Linked DNA regions of Homo sapiens: regions 2, 3, 4, 5 and 6 are each linked to region 1. The links are contacts of gene promoters, found by promoter capture Hi-C in blood cells and fetal thymus (Javierre and others, 2016). All regions are on one chromosome and are shown on one strand. The core of a region is centred on a gene start or on the middle of the fragment in contact, and the rest is flanking DNA. Distances in the headings are between cores, read along the strand shown. Region 1 holds the start of FAM168B (family with sequence similarity 168 member B). Region 2 holds the start of NMI (N-myc and STAT interactor). Region 3 holds the start of REV1 (REV1 DNA directed polymerase). Region 4 holds the start of MRPL19 (mitochondrial ribosomal protein L19). Region 5 overlaps PRPF40A (pre-mRNA processing factor 40A). Region 6 holds the start of LOC105373488 (a long non-coding RNA gene).

Region 1 (3,155 bases), core at 156-2,655:
CTTCTTTACTCCAATACTAAAAAGGAATTTCCCCATGTTTTCTTCTTGTCCTTTTATCACATTTATATTTTATTTTTATTTTTTTTTTTGAGACGGAGTCTTCCTCTGTCGCCCAGGCTGGAGTGCAGTGGCCCGATCTCGGCTCACTGCAACCTCCGCCTCCCGGGTTCAAGAGATTCTCCTGCCTCAGCCTCCAGAGCAGCTAAGGTTACAGATGTGCGCCACCACGCGCAGCTAATTTTTGTATTTTTAGTAGAGACGCGGTTTCACTATGTTGGCCAGGCTGGTCTTGAACTCCTGACCTCGTGATCTGCCCGCCTCGGCCTCCTATAAGTGCCGGGATTAAAGGCGTGAGACACCGCGCCCATCTGTTTTTATTTCATAAACGACTGAAAAAAGACCAGAGCCAGGCCTCCTCCCTTCCATCACTAATCTTTATTGCAATAACTCCCTCCTTTGTCGTCCTGTACCTAGCTCAGACCAGACGACACCCCAAACACAAACACCAAGACACGCACCTCTTTAATACGAAATAATAAACATACCTCCCCCAGAGAGACACCCTGAACTAACCAAATCATTGTAACTATACACTAAGCCTTACATAAAAATACTAACATTTGGCCGGGTGCGGTGGCTCACACTTGTAATCCCAGCACTTTGGGAGGCCAACGTGGGTGGATCACCTGAGGTCACGGGTTCGAGACTAGCCTGACCAACATGGTGAAACCCCCGTCTCTACTAACACAAAAATTAGCCAGGTGTGGTGGCGGGCGCCTGGAATCTCAATTACTCAGGAGGCTGAGGCAGGAGAATCGCTTGAACCCGGGAAGCGGAGGTTGCAGTGAGCCAAGATCGCGCCATTGTACTCCAGCCTGGGTGACAAGAGCGAAACTCCGTCTCAAAAAAAAACCAAAAAACCCCCTAACATTCTAGTACACTTCCCTGAACTCTTGTCTATAGAAATGATCCCGCACTTCTACACTTGAAACGCTGACTTGCATTCTCTAAAATCTGCACTCCTGAGCGGGCGCCCGCAGCCTCCGCACTGGCAAAGAATCTGTGAGCTGAGCTCCGCCCCGCTCCGACCCCGTAGTGGCGGTCACCCGGGGTGTGCTCGACTCCCGGGTGCGGCCTGAGGATCCGCGCCCTGGCGTCTGGGCACACACAAAGGTTTCTGCGGCGCGGGACTATCTCAAAATATAAATTAAATACTTTTTTCACAGACAGTTAATAAAAAAACTACAGCTACACCCGGCCCTTTCGCCAACTGGGACCGGCCCACTCCGCGCTCGCGCTCGCGCTCGTCCATCCGGGCGTCTCGAGGGCGCCGGCGGGAGCGAGCACGCTGCGCAGTCACGTGCCCGGCGCGCCCCCGTCGCGGCGCGCTCAGGCGGAAGTGAGGTCGGCGGCTCCGGTGGCTGCGCAGCGTCGGCGGGGAGCGCGGGCTGCGGAGAGGCGGGCCGGGCCAAGCGGAGCCGAGCGAGCGGGAGCGCGGCGTCCGGGAGGCGGCGGAGACGCGGGGCTCGGAGGGTCAGCCTCTTATCGTAGCAGGTCTCCTCGGCACGCCCCCCTTGTTTCGCCCCACGGCCAAGCCCGCCGCGGGCCGGCGTGCGCTGGTCACTGAGGCCCAGGTCGCCGCCGCGGCGCGGTGAGTGGGGGCGGGCAGCGGGCGACTGCGCGTCCAGGCCGGAAGTGCGGCGCTTTGTGCGGCCGGCTCGGGGCGGCGCCAAGGTCGGCCCGCGGCTCGGGGTCGCTGGGCGTCTGGACCGGCCTGGGCTGCGCTTTGTGCCGCGGGCAAGGCCGGGCGGGGGCCGGGGGCGGAGCTCGGCCGGACACGTACGCGTGCAGGTGCGGTCCGGGCGGCGCGGGCCTGCCGCCTAGGTGGCCGAGGTGGCTTCGCGGCGCGGGGCGTTCTCCTAAAGGTCGGGGTCACAGCCGTCAGGAATGCGAGCGTGAAACCCGGGGGCAGAGCTTTGTGACAATAGTCATTTCCAATGTGTAACTGCTCACTTTGTCTACCCACGAAGTAAAGATAATTTTTATTTTTATTTTTTTGCTTGGCGGAATCTGAGCGTTCTCCTTCCAGCTTGAAAAGGCACGATTTAAATTACAGATTTTTAAGATTTCCTTCAGAAAGGACGTTTCGTGGCCTAGCCTGGGTTAACTTTGAAAAAAGAGTGCAGTGCGCCTTTACGACGTCCACAAATAAGGGTATTTCTGTTTTATAGTGTATGTGAACATGAAGTGTGCATCTCATGGGCTGTTTGAGTTAATGTTTAATCATTAAAGTCAAACAAGAATATTTTGCAGTGTTTTCGCATGCAAGGAAGCTTTATAAATAAAAAGGTTTATATAGTTTCCACTCCTTAAACTTTCAGGTCATCCTTGTGTAATTTGAGATCACTTTTCTCAAATACTATGGATGAAAGATTCTAGATTAAATAAAACTTTTTGGTTTTGGCAAAAACAGGACACATTTTTAAGCTCTTGTAGATGAAGGAGTGGGTTATTTTTGCTTTGACAGCCAAGATTTGAGCAGTGTAAGGCTATTCTAATTTTGAAGCTAGTGTTGCAGAAATTGTGAAGATCTTGCTTCTCTTTGTCTTTACAAAGCAGGCTTACTTTGGTGGAGTTCCGTAGTTTAAAGGGAAATTATACCCAAGTTGTCTTAGACAGTTTCTTTTCCTGGATCAATTGAGCACTTTTTTTTTTTTTTTTGAGACGGAGTCTCCCTCTGTTTCCCAGACTGGAGTGCAGTGGCGCCATCTCGGCTCACTGCAAGCTCCGCCTCCCGGATTCACGTCAGTCTTTTGCCTCAGCCTCCCAAGTAGCTGGGACTGCAGGCGCCCGCCACCACGCCTGGCTAATTTTTTTGTATTTGTTTTTTTTTTTTTTTAGTAGAGACGAGGTTTCACCGTGTTAGCCAGGATGGTCCCAATCTCCTGACCTCGTGATCCGCCCGCCTCGACCTTCCAAAGTGCTGGGATTACAGACGTGAGCCACCGCGCCTGGCCGAGCACAATTTTAAAAGAACAGTACACCAGCGTAATAGAGTAATAGTTTTTTCATGCCTTGTGTCCAGTCTGTTAAGTCTGTCTGATTGTACTGTGCAGAAATACATGAATTCCTCCCAGTAAAATGCAAACCCAAAC
Region 2 (3,047 bases), core at 471-2,970, about 20 Mb before region 1:
CTTCCTGCCTGCTTCAGACAGGTGAAAAGAAATGGGAATAATACCTATATCTAATATTGTTGTTGGCAAAACAAAAAGGTTTATAAAATGTCCAGGAGTTCTTAGTAGATGTTAGCAATTACAATTATTAATAGTATGTCCAGGAGCCAACTCTTCATCTTCAGATCTCTAACACTTTGCAGAATACCAGATTTGAAGCTGAGTTAAATTCAGACTGTTAGTACATGTCTCAGCTTTAGAATGTAGGTGTCCAAAAAGACTTCCCCTCCACCTGTATCATTTGCCTTTTAAACAGAATCTGAGTCAATATATTAAGTTAGTCCTGTTCTGGCCATGGTCCTGTCCTTTAGTATCTTCTTGTAAAAAATAAAAATAAGAAGAAATGAGGTTCAACTAAATAACCTCGAGAGTTCATATTCCCTCTAAAATTTCAAGGTAAAACTAAAGTAATTCTTTCTCAAGTTGCAGCAGAAGGAGTTTTTGTATTTTCTAACTGGTCTGATAAGCACAAAGAAGTCGTTTTTTTTACTTAGAAATGCCATTTTACAGGAGGCTGAGGTGGTGGGATCACTTGGGCCAGAGCTCAAGATCAGCCTGGGAAACAGTTAGATACCTGCCCCCAGCACCCAAATTAAAAGTACAAAAAATCTGGGTGCGGTCGTGAATTCCTGTAATCCCAGCTACTTGGGAGTGGAGGTGGAAGGACTGCTTGAGCTCAGGAGTTGGAGACTGGGCAACAGAGCAAGACTCATCTCAAAAAAAAAAAAAAAAAAGAGAAATGTCACCACTTTAAACTGGTTCCCATCAACCTTTTTGATACAAAGAAATTTTACTTTTGTTAAACTATTTTAGACCACTGTATCAGTTATTATATGTGACTAGGTAGCATGATAACCTATAATTTATGCCTTGAAATAATTTTGACTCATTTTCTTCCCACATCTGTATTTATGAGCCGGGGCAGCTGTGGGGTGGTTCTTTGTGTGGGATTAAGAGACACTGCAGTTCTTGAAATAAACCAGATGTTTGAATTTTCAAAGGAAAAGTTCACACCTAGTGAAGTATTTATTTACAAGCTCCACAACAAAACAAGAGATTATAAGAAAACTTTCAAGGGACATGGGTCACAGAAACCAACAGGAACACCACAGCTTTCCCAACTTCATGGCCCCGGGGGATGTTACAAAAGACACAGAAACGCCGATCTTGTGCTGACTGTAAACATTTGTCAACTAGTGTTACAATGACTAAGAAATTACAAAAGAGTTACAATCTGATGAAGAGCGATTCCTGCTTTGACTTTATTTGGTTTCTATCCACTTTTCCAACATACCTTATAAAATACATGCAAAAAACTGGTTTTAGAAAGCGTTCCCTAAAATTAGTGTGTACGGAAACTTCAGGTATACTTCTGCTTTCCTCCGCAAAACCACCCCTTTTTAAAAATCGAAAGTGAAATTAGTTTTTTTTTCTGTTAGTGACTAATCATTGGAGACAACCATGTTTAGTATTTGAGCATTGGTTAAATGCTAAAGAAAAATCGCCGTTAAAGCAGTTTTCTTTTTCACTGTCTTTTTCTTTTCGCGGGGAACCCAGCTGTTCCTGCGAGGGCCACCTCCTCAGGAAGACCCCGCAGCTCTCCCGCGGCGCTTCTGCAGGAGGCAGCGACAGTTTCGAGAACCCGGGCCTTCCCCTCCCAGTGCCTCCCGGGGTTCCGGCGTTTCAGGCGCTGCTGTTTTCCGGGAAGGGCAGGCGCGCTGGGCCTTGGGGAGCTGCGCTCGGCGGGCGGACGCGGGTGAGTGGGGAGTCCCTTCCCCGGCTGCCACTCCCGCCGCTGGCAGTCCCGGGCTGGAGAGCCGGGGGTGGAAAGGGAGGTGGGAGCCCTCAGCGCCGACGGAAGTGGGACAGCGCCGGAGTTGAGACCCTGCTCCCCGGGAGCTGCCCGCAGCCGAGTCGCGGAGGCCACGCCGCCTTCGAGGGGGCGCACCTGCTCCTGGGCCCGCTGTGCAGTCTCTGGGCCGTCAGGGCTTCGAGCCTTGTCACTTGTTTGCTTTGCTTCATTGAGGAAATTGAAACATAAAGTTATTTGTGTTTCCTCGCTGTTTTCTCTCTTTTTTTTTTTTTTTTTTTTTTTTGAGACGGAGTCTCGCTCTGTCGCTCAGGCTGGAGTGCAGTGGCGCGATCTCGGCTCACTGCAAGCTCCGCCTCCCGGGTTCACGCCATTCTCCAGCCTCAGCCTCCCGAGTAGAGTAGCTGGGACTACAGGCGCCCGCCACCACGCCTGGCTAATTTTTTTTTTTGTATTTTTAGTAGAGACGGGGTTTCACCGTGTTAACCAGGATGGATACGATCTCCTGACCTCGTGATCCGCACGCCTCGGCCTCCCAAAGTGCTGGGATTACAGGCGTGAGCCACCGCGCCCGGCCCTCGCTGTTTTCTCCGAGTGTCTCTGGAGATAGTCCTTAGGAAAACGGATTTCTTAAGAAAACGATTCTTGGTAGGGGCAGTGTTGTGCAGTCATGGCTGGCGTGTCAGAATAGGCAAGGTTTTTCTTGAAGGAGACATCCGAAGGAGAATACTGTGTTTCCAGTCTGTACAACAGGCAGACGTTCTATTGCCTTTCTTTTTGCTGCCACGCATGCATATAGGAAGATTCGATTCTACACGGCCTGGCACCGCAGTTATATGATTGTATTACGGAAATACGGTGATGTTGATTTGTATCAGTTTTTTTAATTCGCTGCCATAACAAATTACATGGCTTTAGTGGCTTAAACACATAGGAACGCGCGCGCGCGCGCACACACACACACACACACACACTCACATACACAATTTACTATCTTAGGATTCTGTAGCAGTCCTACTGAGGTCTCACTGGGTTAAAATCAAAGTGTTGGCAGGGTTGCCTTCCTTTCTGGAAGCTCTTGGGGTGAATCCTCTTTCCATCTTCCGGAGGCCACCTACCTTATTTGGCTCAGCAGCCCTTCCTCCATCTTCAGGGCCAGCAACATTGCGCCTCTGAAAGTTCTTCCGGGGTCACATTT
Region 3 (3,187 bases), core at 666-3,165, about 32 Mb after region 1:
TTTCGTCCTTTACAGAGGCTGCCTACTAGTTTGCAGTTAATACCATTTTACTGTATTCTATAAAGGTATTGCCAAGGTCAGTTGGCTCAAGGTTTGTGTTTCTTCCTTGAGAAAAATACAAAAAGAAGAAAAAAAAAGATCTTCGGTTTGAATACGAGAGTGGAAAAGAAAATTGAAATACAATCGTGCAGGAATGCTGCCATTTAGACATTTAAAACAAGCAAAAGAACAACAACCAAAACAAAACTCACCCATAACAAGGGGTTACCACTGTTTTTCTGTAGCATCTCAGCAGATGACCTCCTGGTGTTGCAGTCGGCAACTGGTCGTGAGTCTGTTAAAATTATGGGCAGGCACGGTGGCTCACGCCTATAATCCTAGCACTTTAGGATGCCAAGGCTGGTGGATTACCTGAGGTCAGGACTTCCAGACCAGCCTGGCCAACATGGTGAAACCCCCTCTCTACTAAAAATACAAAAATTAGCCGGGCATGGTGGCGCATGCCTGTAATCCCAGCTACTCGGGAGGCTGAGGTGGGAGAATCACTTGAACCTGGGAGGCGGAGGTTGCAGTGAGCCGAGATCGCGCCATTGCACTCCAGCCTGGGCAAAAGAGCAAAACTTCGTCTCAAAAGAAAAGAAAAGAAAAGAAAGCAATTACGCAATTTGTTTTAAATTATGACGTCTTTGAAAAGTATGCAATCTAAATTCGTTGGATTAGCGACGAGAATACTGAAGTTGAAGTGCATTTATAGAAGTCTATAAAATGGCAAAAAACTGAAAGGGAAAGAAATGAGCTATTTGAGTATTCTCTGTGTTGCTAGTAAACAAGTTCCAACTCTGCAAATCAGTTTTCAAAAGAATACTGATTGTTTCCTAAGTACCTGCAAACTCTGAAGCATTTTAGGCAAGGGAATGAGTGGGAAAAAAGTATCTTCATGTTTGTGCATTACAACAATAAAGACTATTATGTAACAATGTGGAGTCTTCAAAGCGACCCTGCCAAGAGGGAGAAAGTGGTCCTTATGGACGGATTGTTTTCTGCTAGAAGGCCCTCAATTAGAATTGTACTTACGCATACATAATATAGGATATTATTTTTATATTCATAGAAAACTGCTTTCTCGGGTAACTCCAGCGCTGTACATGGGATGGGATACCGGCCCTCCGTTTACAAATACTCAGGCGCAATGCTGCCCGGGCACTCAAAGGACAGAAGATAGTGTCTGTGCCCTGCGGGAGCAGGCCACGAATCCCGAAAACGCCGTGGCGCAGTGCTCCTTCCCGCGAACCTGAGTGGGCCGTGGTTCTCGGTTGCTCTGGACATAGGAAAATGTCAGTTCATGTGTGTCCCTTTCTCCACTAGATGTCACTGTAAATCAATTGCTTAAGGAGGGAACCCGGGCGTCTGGCGCATCTTCACACAGTACCGGGGTTTGAAGCCCGGTCAGTGTCTGCACTTGTGTCCTTCCCCACTGGGGAGCCCCAAGGCGGGGCAGGCGCGGGGACTCGCTGTGCACGGAGCGGCGCGCTGTCCGAATGGCAACCGAAGAGCCGCGACCCGGTCAACGAAGCGCGGGGGTGACCGGAGCAGGACGGGCGGGCAGGCGGCGCAGTGCGTGGGCGGGCCCGCGCTGCGCTCCCCTCCGCCCAGCTAGCGAGACGGTCACGTGCCGCCCAGGCGCTGCCCCTTGCGGGCGGCTGCAGAACAACAGGGCGGGGCCGGGGAGGGGAGGAACACGGAGGCCGACGCCGGGCGCCGCGGTGCTACGCCCGAGGCTGGGGTCGCCCCGGGCCGGGGGGAGCAGAGCGCGTGCGCCGCGCGGCTGTGAGCGCGAGCGGGGCCGGGGAGCGCGCGCGGAACGCTAGGGGGCGTGGCTGCGGCGCGCGCGCTAACCGGAGGGGGAGGGGCGGAGAGCCACCGCGGAGCGCGCGCGGGGTTGGTTGCCGCGAGCGTGGGGGAGCGTGGACCGCGGCGCTGCTCAGCGGTGGGGCTGCCTTCCCCCGGCCCTCCTCCCTGGTCCCTGGCGAGGGCACTGGCGGCGGCGGGGCCGGGGTCCGCAAGGCCGGAGAAGGCCGCCGGGCCCGGGCATGGTGGTCTGGGGCAACGCGGAAGGTGAGCGACCCCCGGGCCGGCGGCGGGGTGGGGGAGGGGCGGGATCGGACACGCGTCGCCCGGAGGCGCCGCAGACCCGCCCGGCAGCGGCCAGAGCGCGGTCGGCCTGAGGTGGCGCGGGGGAGGGGTGCGTCGCCCCGGCCCCGGCCCGCGGCCGTCCTGTCGCGGCCTGGGCTGTCCACGGCGCCTTCCCCTGACGCTCGCAGCCGCCGGGTTATGTAATGTGTGACCTCCCCTCCCCTTCCCTTCCGTCATGGCGCGGCCGGCCCCGCGCCGCCGCCAGCCCCATGGGCCGCCCCGCGCCGACCCCTGGCGCAGCGGCCCTTCCCTCCGCGCCCGGCCGCATCCCGCCGGCCCGGTCAGACCGCGCCGCAAACTCCTTCCTCCTGCGCCGGCGCCTCGGCCGGCCATTCAGTTCCGCGCCATTCATTCACGCGCGCGTTCGGGCGTTCGTTCCACAAGCGTTTGTAGAATGTCGACCCGGTCGAGCCGCCGCTCCCACCCGCACTCCAGCCACAGCGTTTTTCCGCACCCCGCCTTCGACGTCCCCGGTGCATCCCAGAACCGGTCGGAATGTCCGAAGGCGGTTGTTGCTCCCTTGTTTTTCCTTGCTGCTTGTCCGTTCGCTAAATACGCTGGGCGCCGTTCCCCAACTGTCCTTCCGAGAGCCCCTTGCCCACTTCTGTACTGTTACAGTGACGCCGCTCTGGGCGCACCGAGCCGCGCTGTGTTTCGCTGCTCTTCCTACCTATTCTCAGTTTGTAAAGAAATAATCTCACATAACACTCCTTAATGTACTCCTCCGTAAGATAAATTGCAGATAATATACGTCTGCTAATTCTCTTTATCTCCACGTCTTCTCACGCCATGTACTAAGTAGAAATGGTTTCATTTAGGTGAAAATAATGCAGACTAGCACATAGCACAACAAGGGCTTGTAACTATTAAGGACTTTATGTAACAGTCTGTAATTCTGTGTATCTGTCTGGTCTTTCCGGACTTGGCACTTTAGTCTCCGAGAATAAGCCATTTCCTGTTTAGGTAGGGTAGGACCAACCATAACCTTGGTTCT
Region 4 (2,787 bases), core at 102-2,601, about 55 Mb after region 1:
TTCTGAATCTCTTAGTTCTCTAACTCCAAGTTTACTTCTATTTAAATCCGTGGAATATTTTAAATGTTAAAAAAAGAAAAGAAAAAAAAAAGCCAGGCGTGGTACCAGTAGTTCCAGCTACTCTGGAGCCTGAGGCGGGAGGATCACTTGAGCCCAGAAATTTGAGGCTGCAGTGAGCTAAAATCACCACTGCACTCCAGCCTGGGAGACTGAGAGAGACTCTGTCTAAAAAAAATTTAAAAAATAAAAAAATTAAAAATCCCAGAAGTAATCCAATCAATAATCTACAGCCCTTTCAAAAAGCCTATAATCATATCAGGTTTTTCCTCTGAAAACTGGCTTTTTAAAAAGGTTGCTACATAGCTCTCTTTTCAGACCTTAAGTCCTTTAAATTTACATGTACCTCCAAGATTACCACCATTCATATAAGTTTTTATTCACACTATTTTGATGAGTAAGTTTCAGACACAATTTAGTGGCCAGTTTTACTGTGCTTTGTCTGCCAAAACTTCCAACCTAAACCATAGCAAATTTTTTAAGTTGGCCAATCGATTCCTATCCAGGGTTAAGGGTCTTTTGAGAGAAAAGAAGAGCTCTTGGACGTAAACAGGTATAAACAGGATATACCTCAGAGAAAAACTCTGGTACAGGACAAATACCACAGAGAAAAGAGTTTAAAATATGGGGAACCCCTACTTGAAGTTCTGACTCAATAAAACTGCAAAGAAGTTCAATGCTGGCTTGGGGAGAAGTGAGAAAGAAAGAACAGTGTGGTGCGCTGGCTCTTGAATCCTACACACCTGCTCGTGCAGGGGGAGGTGCAGCCCCCACCTTAGAGCCGGGACCTCGAACGCGAACGCGCTCACGCGCGCACCGACCCCAGTTGCCGGCCTAGCGCCAGGGCAGTGCCTCACCTGCGTTCCGGTTCCACGGGGCGGTGCTTGTCCACGATGACCGGTTTCGGCGGCGGTTGGAACGCACCGGGCTCGGAAGGCCCAGTGCTCTGCTGCCGGACAGGCCCCGCGTGGACCCCTGCGGGAGCGGACGACGGAGGTCAGAACTCTCGTGCCAACCCTGAGATCCCGCAGAGCCCCGCAATCTCCCCCAACCCGGCGTCCCACGGGGGACCAACGCTGGGGTTGCCTCTGATCTCCAGGTTCGCCTCCCCCATCCTGACCCTGGGCCCCTAACGCGCCCCAGCTCGCAAGTCCGGCTCCACTTACTGCAGGCGATAGAGGCCGGCGGGGGGAGCAGAGTCCTGGCGGCTTGGAAACTCCGGCCTAGGCCCATTGCAGCCCAGTGCCCCGCTGCAATGCAGGCCGCCATGCCAGCTAGCTCACGTCAAGACTACAGCTCCCAGTAATCAGTGCGACGAGGTTGTTGCTGTCTGCCACCATATGGCGGCTGCTATGGGACAAAATGGATAAGTCTCTCCTCGCTCCTTTCCTGATGTCTTAGGAAAAGTGCACGTTTCTCTAGTTCCTCGTAATGCGCCAAGTTACACCCCTCCACAGGGGTGTTCTCCCAGCCTAGAAAGCTTTTTCCTCCCCCTATGAATCCACTCTATCTTCTCAGACAAGCTTTCGCTATGCGAAAATCCCATTGTAGGCCGTCTTTCCCACTGGGTGCCTTCGATTGGCAGCTCTGATCTCATTTGCAATTCTTTCTTGTGTAATTATTAGATTAGTATTTAAATCTGCCATTATACTATAATGAGGCAAGGGAAGGGATAAAGTCTTCTTTTTGCTCACCATGTTATCCCAGCACCTAGCACCTACCTGGGCCCTCACTAACATCTTTTGTTTTGTTGAGACAAGGTCTTCCTCTGTTACCCAGGCTGGAGTGCAGTGGCGCGATCATGGCTCTGCAGCCTCCAACTCCTGATGTCAGGAGATCCTCTCACCTCAGCCTCCCGAGTAGCCAAGACTACAGTCTCGCACCATCACGCCCAGCTAATTTTTCTAATTCTTTGCTGAATGCACAGAAAAGAGAATAGAATAGTTCCTGACAGAACTGCTGGCCCATAGTCCTTGAGACTACACAAAGCATTAACCCTTTGAGGAACCCAAATGAATTTGGGCTGGGCAACTGTGGGTATGGATAGGTGGGAGAAGTAAAGCTGGAAAAGGTAAATTGTAAGTCTTGTTAAGAAATTTGGAAAATGACTGGGCGTGGCCAGGCATGCCTGTAATCCCAGCACTGTGGGAGGCCGAGACAGGAGGGTCCCTTGAGCTCATGAGTTGGAAACCAGCCTGGGCAATATAGTGAGACCGTATCTCTAAGAAACAAACACACAGCCGGGCGCAGTGGCTCACGCCTTTAACCCCAGCATTTTGGGAGGCCGAGGCGGGCAGATCGCCTGAGGTCAGGAGTTTGAGACTAGCCTGGCCAACATAGTGAAACCCCGTTTCTACCAAAAATAAAAAAAATGATCCAGGTGTGGTGGCAGGCTCCTGTAATCCCAGCTACTTGGGAGGCTAAGGCAGGAGAATCGCTTGAACCTGGGAGACAGAGGTTGCAGTGAGCCGAGATCGCGCCATTGCAACAAGAGCGAAACTCCGTCTCAAAAAAACAGAAAAAGAAACACACACAAAAAAAGAAATTTGGAATTTGTTATTTCAGCAGTGGTTATATAAGGATTGAACACTTAGAGTAATGTGATAATTTAACTACATAATAGTCATTCCAGTTGCATTAATGTCCCAAAGCTACCTCAAATTCAGCCTATCCATACTGAGTTCATCTTTTTCAGCTCCAGACTTCCTTCCCAGTATTGGCTATCTCAAG
Region 5 (2,790 bases), core at 201-2,700, about 22 Mb before region 1:
GGGAGAGAAGTGGAGGGTGGAAATGCACAAAGAGAAGGATGTGAGACCCTGGAAGTTCCCCGTGGGCTTGGCCTAGACAGATGCGTGGTGAAGGTGCTGGCTCTTGGGCGGGGTGAGCGTCTTGGAGCTTTAGGCCCGATTTTAGCTGGGAGGGGGAGGCAGGGGCTTGATACTGTAAGACTTTAACAGCGGCTGCCAAAATTTGTTTTCATTAGTCGTCGGGGTGGTCTGCAGGGGGAACTGTTGGGACAATTGGCAGGAGATAATTAGGTGGTTTTAATTTAAAACATAGAACAATGGACTCATCGGTAAAGAAAGTAGTTGTCTTTTTAAACTGCGTTAAAAAGGATGAATTAGTTGTTTGCATTTAGTGTCCGTGAGTGACAGAACCTCAGTCTTTGAAAATGTATTTTTGGCAGAAGGAATTTTACCTGTCTTAAAGGTTATGTTAGGAAATAAGTTTGTTAGGAGTGAATTGTGCCTGGGTAGCCATACTGTTTGTGTTTTGTAAGACCGACTCTCACCTGAGTTAATTGGATAGAGCATTTTAAAGTTTAAAATCAGTAGTGTTATAAAATAACAATAGCTGGCTATCTTTTATATCTGCATGAAATAGGAGAGTTGTTGTTTTCACCATAACAGTTTTAAAATTAGTATTCAATGTGTATCCTCCAAGCTTAGCAAGCCAATTAGTAGCTGGTTAAGTCAGTGCTTAAAAAAAAGAGAGAGAAAACCTATGATCCAGCGGTCCAGGATTCATCTTAACTTTTCCCATTTTTTTACGGAATTTGCAAGCTCGTTTTAAATACTAGCAGAATGCGTTTTGTTTGAAACAAGGTATAGACTAATCCAATGATGTTATTACACATAAGCTTAATATTATGTCGCTTCAGATAACTGATCTGTTGAAATGAGATTTTTGAGAAGCATTTAGTATTATTTGCTCATTTAAAAATGTTCACTGTTTTTCAGATGGGGCACCCTGGCATGCATTATGCCCCAATGGGAATGCACCCTATGGGTCAGAGAGCGAATATGCCTCCTGTACCTCATGGAATGATGCCGCAGATGATGCCCCCTATGGGAGGGCCACCAATGGGACAAGTAAGACTGTTTTTGTTTTATTTTGCATTTATTTATTTGTTTTTGCCTCAGGTATTCTATCAAGATTTCAGAATCTAGGTCAGTAGTTATAGCTGTTTAATGATTAGTTTATGCCCGAATAATTTCAAATAAGCCAAATGTTAAATCATGACTGTAACGGAAATTTGAATAATGGAAAAGTCTTCTGAGAAATTTAAATAATGAAAAAGTCTTCTGAGAAATTTACTGATGACCTCAAAACTAAGAATTTTTTTCTTTATTATTTAAAAGTAAAGTGTGGATCCAGGCTTTTATTTTTAATGATTATTTTTTCAAGAATGCCAATTGAAGTTGATGGTCTAAGTAAATATTATCTGATACAGCAACATAACTGATTTTGGTAGACCATGTAAATAAATAGAATCTGAAAATAGCTATTGTTTTGGTTTAGAGCGAATTTTATTCCTGAAATATCTTCCTCTTTGTGTGTTGGAGGAGGGTGAGGGAGGGTGGGGAGTTTGTGCTCTATAATTCTGATTCTTCATAGGACAGTGCCAATAGGTAGTTCATTTTCCACTTATACTATTTTTTTTTAATGCTTGTTGCTTCTACACTCCTGCTTATGAGCTGTCCCTTCCATCTCTAGCATAAATTGTAAATGGACATTTTGTAGGAGTGATTTGGATCAAAAGGTTTTAATGCTGATTCAGTGATTTCGGTAGAACTGAGTTTCTAGAGAAGCATCCAAGAAAGGTAACAGGTTCAGTTACCATGAGTAATTTTGTGCTTCATGTTAAGTTCTATAATAGATCTTTAGGTGGCTGGGTTATTTCCATTTGAGTATTTCCATAAATCATCAAAAATTTAGGCTAACAAAATATTTTGGAAGCCAATTTCATGTGATCTTTTGCTAATTAGTACTGTTTGATAATTGTTTAAGCTTTCATGGTTAAAGTTATTGGTGAAATTGCAGTGGGAAAAGGAGCTTGCTATGTGTCTGTCTCTTTTTACTTAACCTTAAGAGTAGAAGGGCTTAATGTCCAGTGATTTTCCTCTTTTTTTTTTTAATTTGGAATATTGCCCTTAATTTTGTTAAAAAACAAAACAAAACCTTTATTCAAAGGCACCAGCCCCAAAAGATTCTGCTTGCAGGAGTTCTTTAAATAAAAGAGCCTTTTATTCTGTTACTCTAGAATAACACAAATTTTAAAACTCTCTAGGTGATGGAGAAACAACTTTGATTCCTCTTCTGTTTCTTTCCATCTCTAAGGAGCAAGGAGCTCTTCTTGTTTTCTTGGTAGAGCTGCTCTAACTAGATAATGAGCTTTAAAAATATTTATTCTTTAAATGCTCTGGTTCTTATTTAAAATTAGTTTCTTTCCACAGAAAGATAAAATAAAACAATTTGCTACTGCCAGATGCTTCTCTCTTTTCTGGGGCCTTCTGTTTCCATTGGGCCAATCAAGGTAAGTTTTGCAAGGGATTGACCTGCTTACCCTTGCTGTAATGGTGCTATTGCACTACCAAAACCAAGATACCAGCTAGTCATAGTTCTAGTTAAAAAAAAAAATGCAGATTTTATTTTTTAAAAGTACTTTCATGTATCTCATTGACATAAGCTGGTCACAGTTTGCTTTATGGCCCTTTCTCTTTAGCTGTATCAGTGACCATCTTTCTAGTAAGTTTACTTGCTACTCGGTACACATC
Region 6 (3,100 bases), core at 571-3,070, about 36 Mb after region 1:
AACAACCCGAAGTAGAAAAAAACCCGTGAGCTTTACTTTCAAGCATAAAGTAGGATACAGGGATTGGGTGGCACTGGAAAGCTTCAGAACGTTCTTTCTTGGATGCATGGCGCAATGAGAGACCCAACAGACCAAGGGTCAGGAAGAAAAAACAATTTACTATTCAAATAATGAGATATGGGTCCAACCTCTGCAGTGTAGTCAGTGAATGAATAATAAAAAGAGGGTTGTGTGGCCTGGGGCTGCTCTTGCTTCCTCTGGGTCCTCAGTTTCCCCATCTGTAAAACAAAGGGACAGACCAGACCGCATGATCCTTAACTGGGGCTGAGGCTACAGCCTTAGGTTTCCAGGGTGCAGATCTTGATATTCCCTGGGCACAGCGCCTGAGCACAGATTCCTCTGTGGGGAGATGGACTCACATCCCTGGGAACCCTGCTGGAAGTATCTGCCCAAGCAAGCAGCTCTGAGCCCTTACCTGAAGGTTCATCTTTGGCAATGGGATTCCTTGGAAAGAAAGCTGCCCCTTAACCCCGGGGGCTGCCGTGGGGTGCCCACATAGCAGGGCTGTAATATTTTTTTCTTATCTCTGGAGAGCAGCTCAATTCATGTCCAGTAAACACAAACCCGGAGGCCCTTTCTTGATGAACACTGCAGATATAATGAAAAACTGGCTCAGATCTTCATCTTACAAATGCAGCTGCTGCTTCAGACATGGTGCTTCCCCCAGGCTTATGGGGATTCAACTCATAGACTCATGTAAACACACATGTAACCCATGGCACCCTCAGGGCCTGGGACAGCAGTCCAGAGCGGGATCTCTCTGCCTCCTAAGGCTGGCCCTGGAGAAGTCGCTTGGGGCAGATGTGAGGGGGATCACCAAAGGGAGGGGGAATTGCCACCAGCACATCCAAGATCATTCCTAGAAGGCAAGCAGCAACCTCCACGCCAGGTTTTCTGTGGCTCTCCGGAAGCCCTTGGATGCCTGTCCATTAAAAGAGGAGTCATTCAGGCCCTTCGCAAATGCTGGTGCCACAGTGGCTTTCAGAGGAGGCCTCATGGCCCCTCCTGACGTCCCCTTGGTACTTGGCTCCCCGGCCCTCTGCAGTCTCATCTGGAACACTGTCTGCTGTCCTGCTCCTTCCAGGGGTTCTGTGGCATTGCCCTTTTCAGCCCGGCCTGAGCTCCTGGGCAGCAAGGCTTCCCCTCCGACCCCCAGCAGCCTTCACCCACCTGCCCTGGGGGCTTTGTTCCTGCCTCTGGGACCCAGGGATGTGACCATGCCTCCAGGAGCCTTCGTCACCTGCTCCCAGGGTTGGGCAGGGTGTCCCTCCCAGCAGAGCCATCCTGGCTGCCCTCAGGCTGTGGCTCCCACCAGAAGCTGACAGCCTCCAGCAAAGCCAGAAATGGCCCCCTTGGCGGTTCCACCTGGCCCTCCCTTCCGTTGACAAGAATGCGACCTGAGTTGTTGCTTGTTGTTAACCCCTGTGCAGCAGCTTCCAAAGAAACTGCTTCAAAGCACGGGGCAGGGAGGGCTCCGCAGGGTTTGGAGGCAGAGGCAGCCTGAAAACAGGTGGCAAAGCTCTGAGGGCGGGTGCAGGAACAAAGCTGTGTGCGCTCTGCCCCATGTGTTCCAGCAAAACAGGATGTCGGTTAGTGGAGAAGGAGCAAAAGTGCCTCTGAAGTATTCTTGAGAAGGTCATGGTTGCTTCTCAGAAAGGGCATTTACCACAGACCAAGCAGAATTTCCCAGCTGGGCGCCTGGGGACTGGGGATCGTGCTGTTGAGCACAGGGGCATCTGAGAGCATTCGGACACTGCTGGCCTTCACCTCACACAGCCTCAGGTGTCCGGTGTGCTCTCCTCTCCAGATGGCCATATGGCCAGGGCTTCTTGTGTCCTTGGGCTGCGCAGGAGTGAAATCTCCTTTCCTGCCCGCAGGAAGCCACGTGGGCTTCAGTGGCCGTTTTGATTTGCGCCTATGAATCAGACGCTGGCCAGATCACCCTCCATAGCCCCTGCCCACGCCTAGGGAAGGACAATGGGGTCAGCCATGCGGTTGGCCAGGTATTGAGGGCTTGTTCATGGTGTCTTTGTGGGCCTGACAGAAGCCTTTGAGGCCATTAACACCCAAACCCTTCCACTCAATGTTGGGCAGGCTGAGAACTCTTCTAAGAATCTAAGAGTCAGCCTGAAGTATCGGGTGGGGTGGGGCTTCACTAGGATGGCAGCCACGGTGCCCTCACCCTCACCCCAGGCAGTTCCATGGTCAAAAGGCTCACTCTGTCCCAGGCCCTCCTCTCTAACGTTGCCCTCCCTGTCACAGACTGGGATGACTCAAGTCCTGGACTGCCCCCGGGCCAGCTGTCACCCGAGTGGGGTGGGAGTGGGGTGACTGCCTGCCCAGCGGTCAGGGCAGCAGCCACCCAGCTGCTCATTAACTCAGAGGCAGCCACTGGCTTCAGGGAGGCCCTCTCCCCAGGACTTCCCAGCCTGTCCATGCTTGAAGAGCTCTGTTTAATATACATATATTTTAAATTTGCACATTGGTCCTCTACCCAATACGCATGTTAATAGTAGGTACACTTCTAGTAACTGTCGATGGAGATATAAGTTTGTAAAAAGCTGCTCTGAGGTTAGCGGTGTTTTTAACGTAGGCACCATGAGCACAGGTATACATTTTGGAAAACAACACTGGAGGGTATAAGGGGCTTGGACTGCTTATGAATGCACAAAGCTAGTTCCCAGAGCCCTCAGGATGGAAGCCACAGGTTTAGGGTCCCCTTGAGTTCCCAGTGAGAGCTGGACTCAGCAGTGTGCACCCAGACACACACATTCCTGCTCCACTTGGGCTAGAATTAGCATGGTGACCATGCCATCTCTGAGACCTTCCAGGAACCCTTTGATCTCAATGATGATGAGGCTGAGGCCAGAACCTTCCAGTACCTTCTCAGTCAGTGGTTTTCAAACCTGGCTGACCATAAATGAACCTTCTGAAAAAGCTCTTTAAAAATGCAGATTTCTCGCCAGATGCAGTGGCTTACCCCTGGAATCCCAGCGTTTTCAGAGGCTGAGGCAGGGAGACTGCTTAAAGCCAGGAGTTT

The links. Contacts are between HindIII fragments. The CHiCAGO score rates a contact against its expected background, and 5 or more counts as called.
Region 2: a contact is called between the fragment with the promoter of NMI here and the fragment with the promoter of FAM168B in region 1, in 1 of 17 cell types (fetal thymus). The highest score is 5.1, in fetal thymus.
Region 3: the fragment with the promoter of REV1 here is called in contact with the fragment with the promoter of FAM168B in region 1 in 2 of 17 cell types (monocytes and neutrophils); the score reaches 7.4 in monocytes.
Region 4: a contact is called between the fragment with the promoter of MRPL19 here and the fragment with the promoter of FAM168B in region 1, in 6 of 17 cell types (total CD8 T cells, non-activated CD4 T cells, naive CD4 T cells and 3 more). The highest score is 20.4, in total CD8 T cells.
Region 5: a fragment that was not itself captured here is called in contact with the fragment with the promoter of FAM168B in region 1 in 3 of 17 cell types (total B cells, total CD4 T cells and non-activated CD4 T cells); the score reaches 5.4 in total B cells.
Region 6: a fragment that was not itself captured here is called in contact with the fragment with the promoter of FAM168B in region 1 in 1 of 17 cell types (total CD4 T cells); the score reaches 5.3 in total CD4 T cells.

Annotation. Positions count from the first base shown.
Region 1 is chr2:131,091,710-131,094,864 of GRCh38, reverse strand. FAM168B (family with sequence similarity 168 member B) reads left to right here and starts at 1,405. Exons shown (of 7, transcript NM_001009993.4): 1 at 1,405-1,651. RefSeq lists a silencer at 1,232-1,951. The HindIII fragment of the contact is 2,381 bases long and covers 1-2,335 here.
Region 2 is chr2:151,288,341-151,291,387 of GRCh38, reverse strand. NMI (N-myc and STAT interactor) reads left to right here and starts at 1,720. Exons shown (of 8, transcript NM_004688.3): 1 at 1,720-1,795. RefSeq lists enhancers at 1,132-1,551, 1,612-1,691, 2,082-2,131, 2,152-2,201, 3,002-3,047 and a silencer at 1,752-1,951. The HindIII fragment of the contact is 4,870 bases long and covers 1-3,047 here.
Region 3 is chr2:99,488,745-99,491,931 of GRCh38, reverse strand. It overlaps REV1 (REV1 DNA directed polymerase), which reads left to right and starts at 1,915. Exons shown (of 23, transcript NM_016316.4): 1 at 1,915-2,115. RefSeq lists an enhancer at 1,092-1,977 and silencers at 1,411-2,080, 2,191-2,290, 2,361-2,440. The HindIII fragment of the contact is 11,070 bases long and covers 1-3,187 here.
Region 4 is chr2:75,645,347-75,648,133 of GRCh38, reverse strand. It overlaps MRPL19 (mitochondrial ribosomal protein L19), which reads right to left and starts at 1,351. Exons shown (of 6, transcript NM_014763.4): 1 at 1,224-1,351; 2 at 915-1,032. The coding sequence starts at 1,326. RefSeq lists enhancers at 1,122-1,421, 1,257-1,551. The HindIII fragment of the contact is 2,636 bases long and covers 1-1,539 here.
Region 5 is chr2:152,714,309-152,717,098 of GRCh38, reverse strand. PRPF40A (pre-mRNA processing factor 40A) reads left to right here. Exons shown (of 26, transcript NM_001365597.4): 2 at 973-1,104. Among named protein-coding and RNA genes, the nearest start is that of PRPF40A, 1.8 kb to the left of the region's middle. The HindIII fragment of the contact is 1,151 bases long and covers 875-2,025 here.
Region 6 is chr2:95,073,292-95,076,391 of GRCh38, reverse strand. All of the region lies in intron 1 of LOC124907857 (a long non-coding RNA gene), which reads left to right. LOC105373488 (a long non-coding RNA gene) reads right to left here and starts at 1,502. Exons shown (of 3, transcript XR_923076.3): 1 at 1,231-1,502; 2 at 476-648; 3 at 139-278. The HindIII fragment of the contact is 3,474 bases long and covers 84-3,100 here.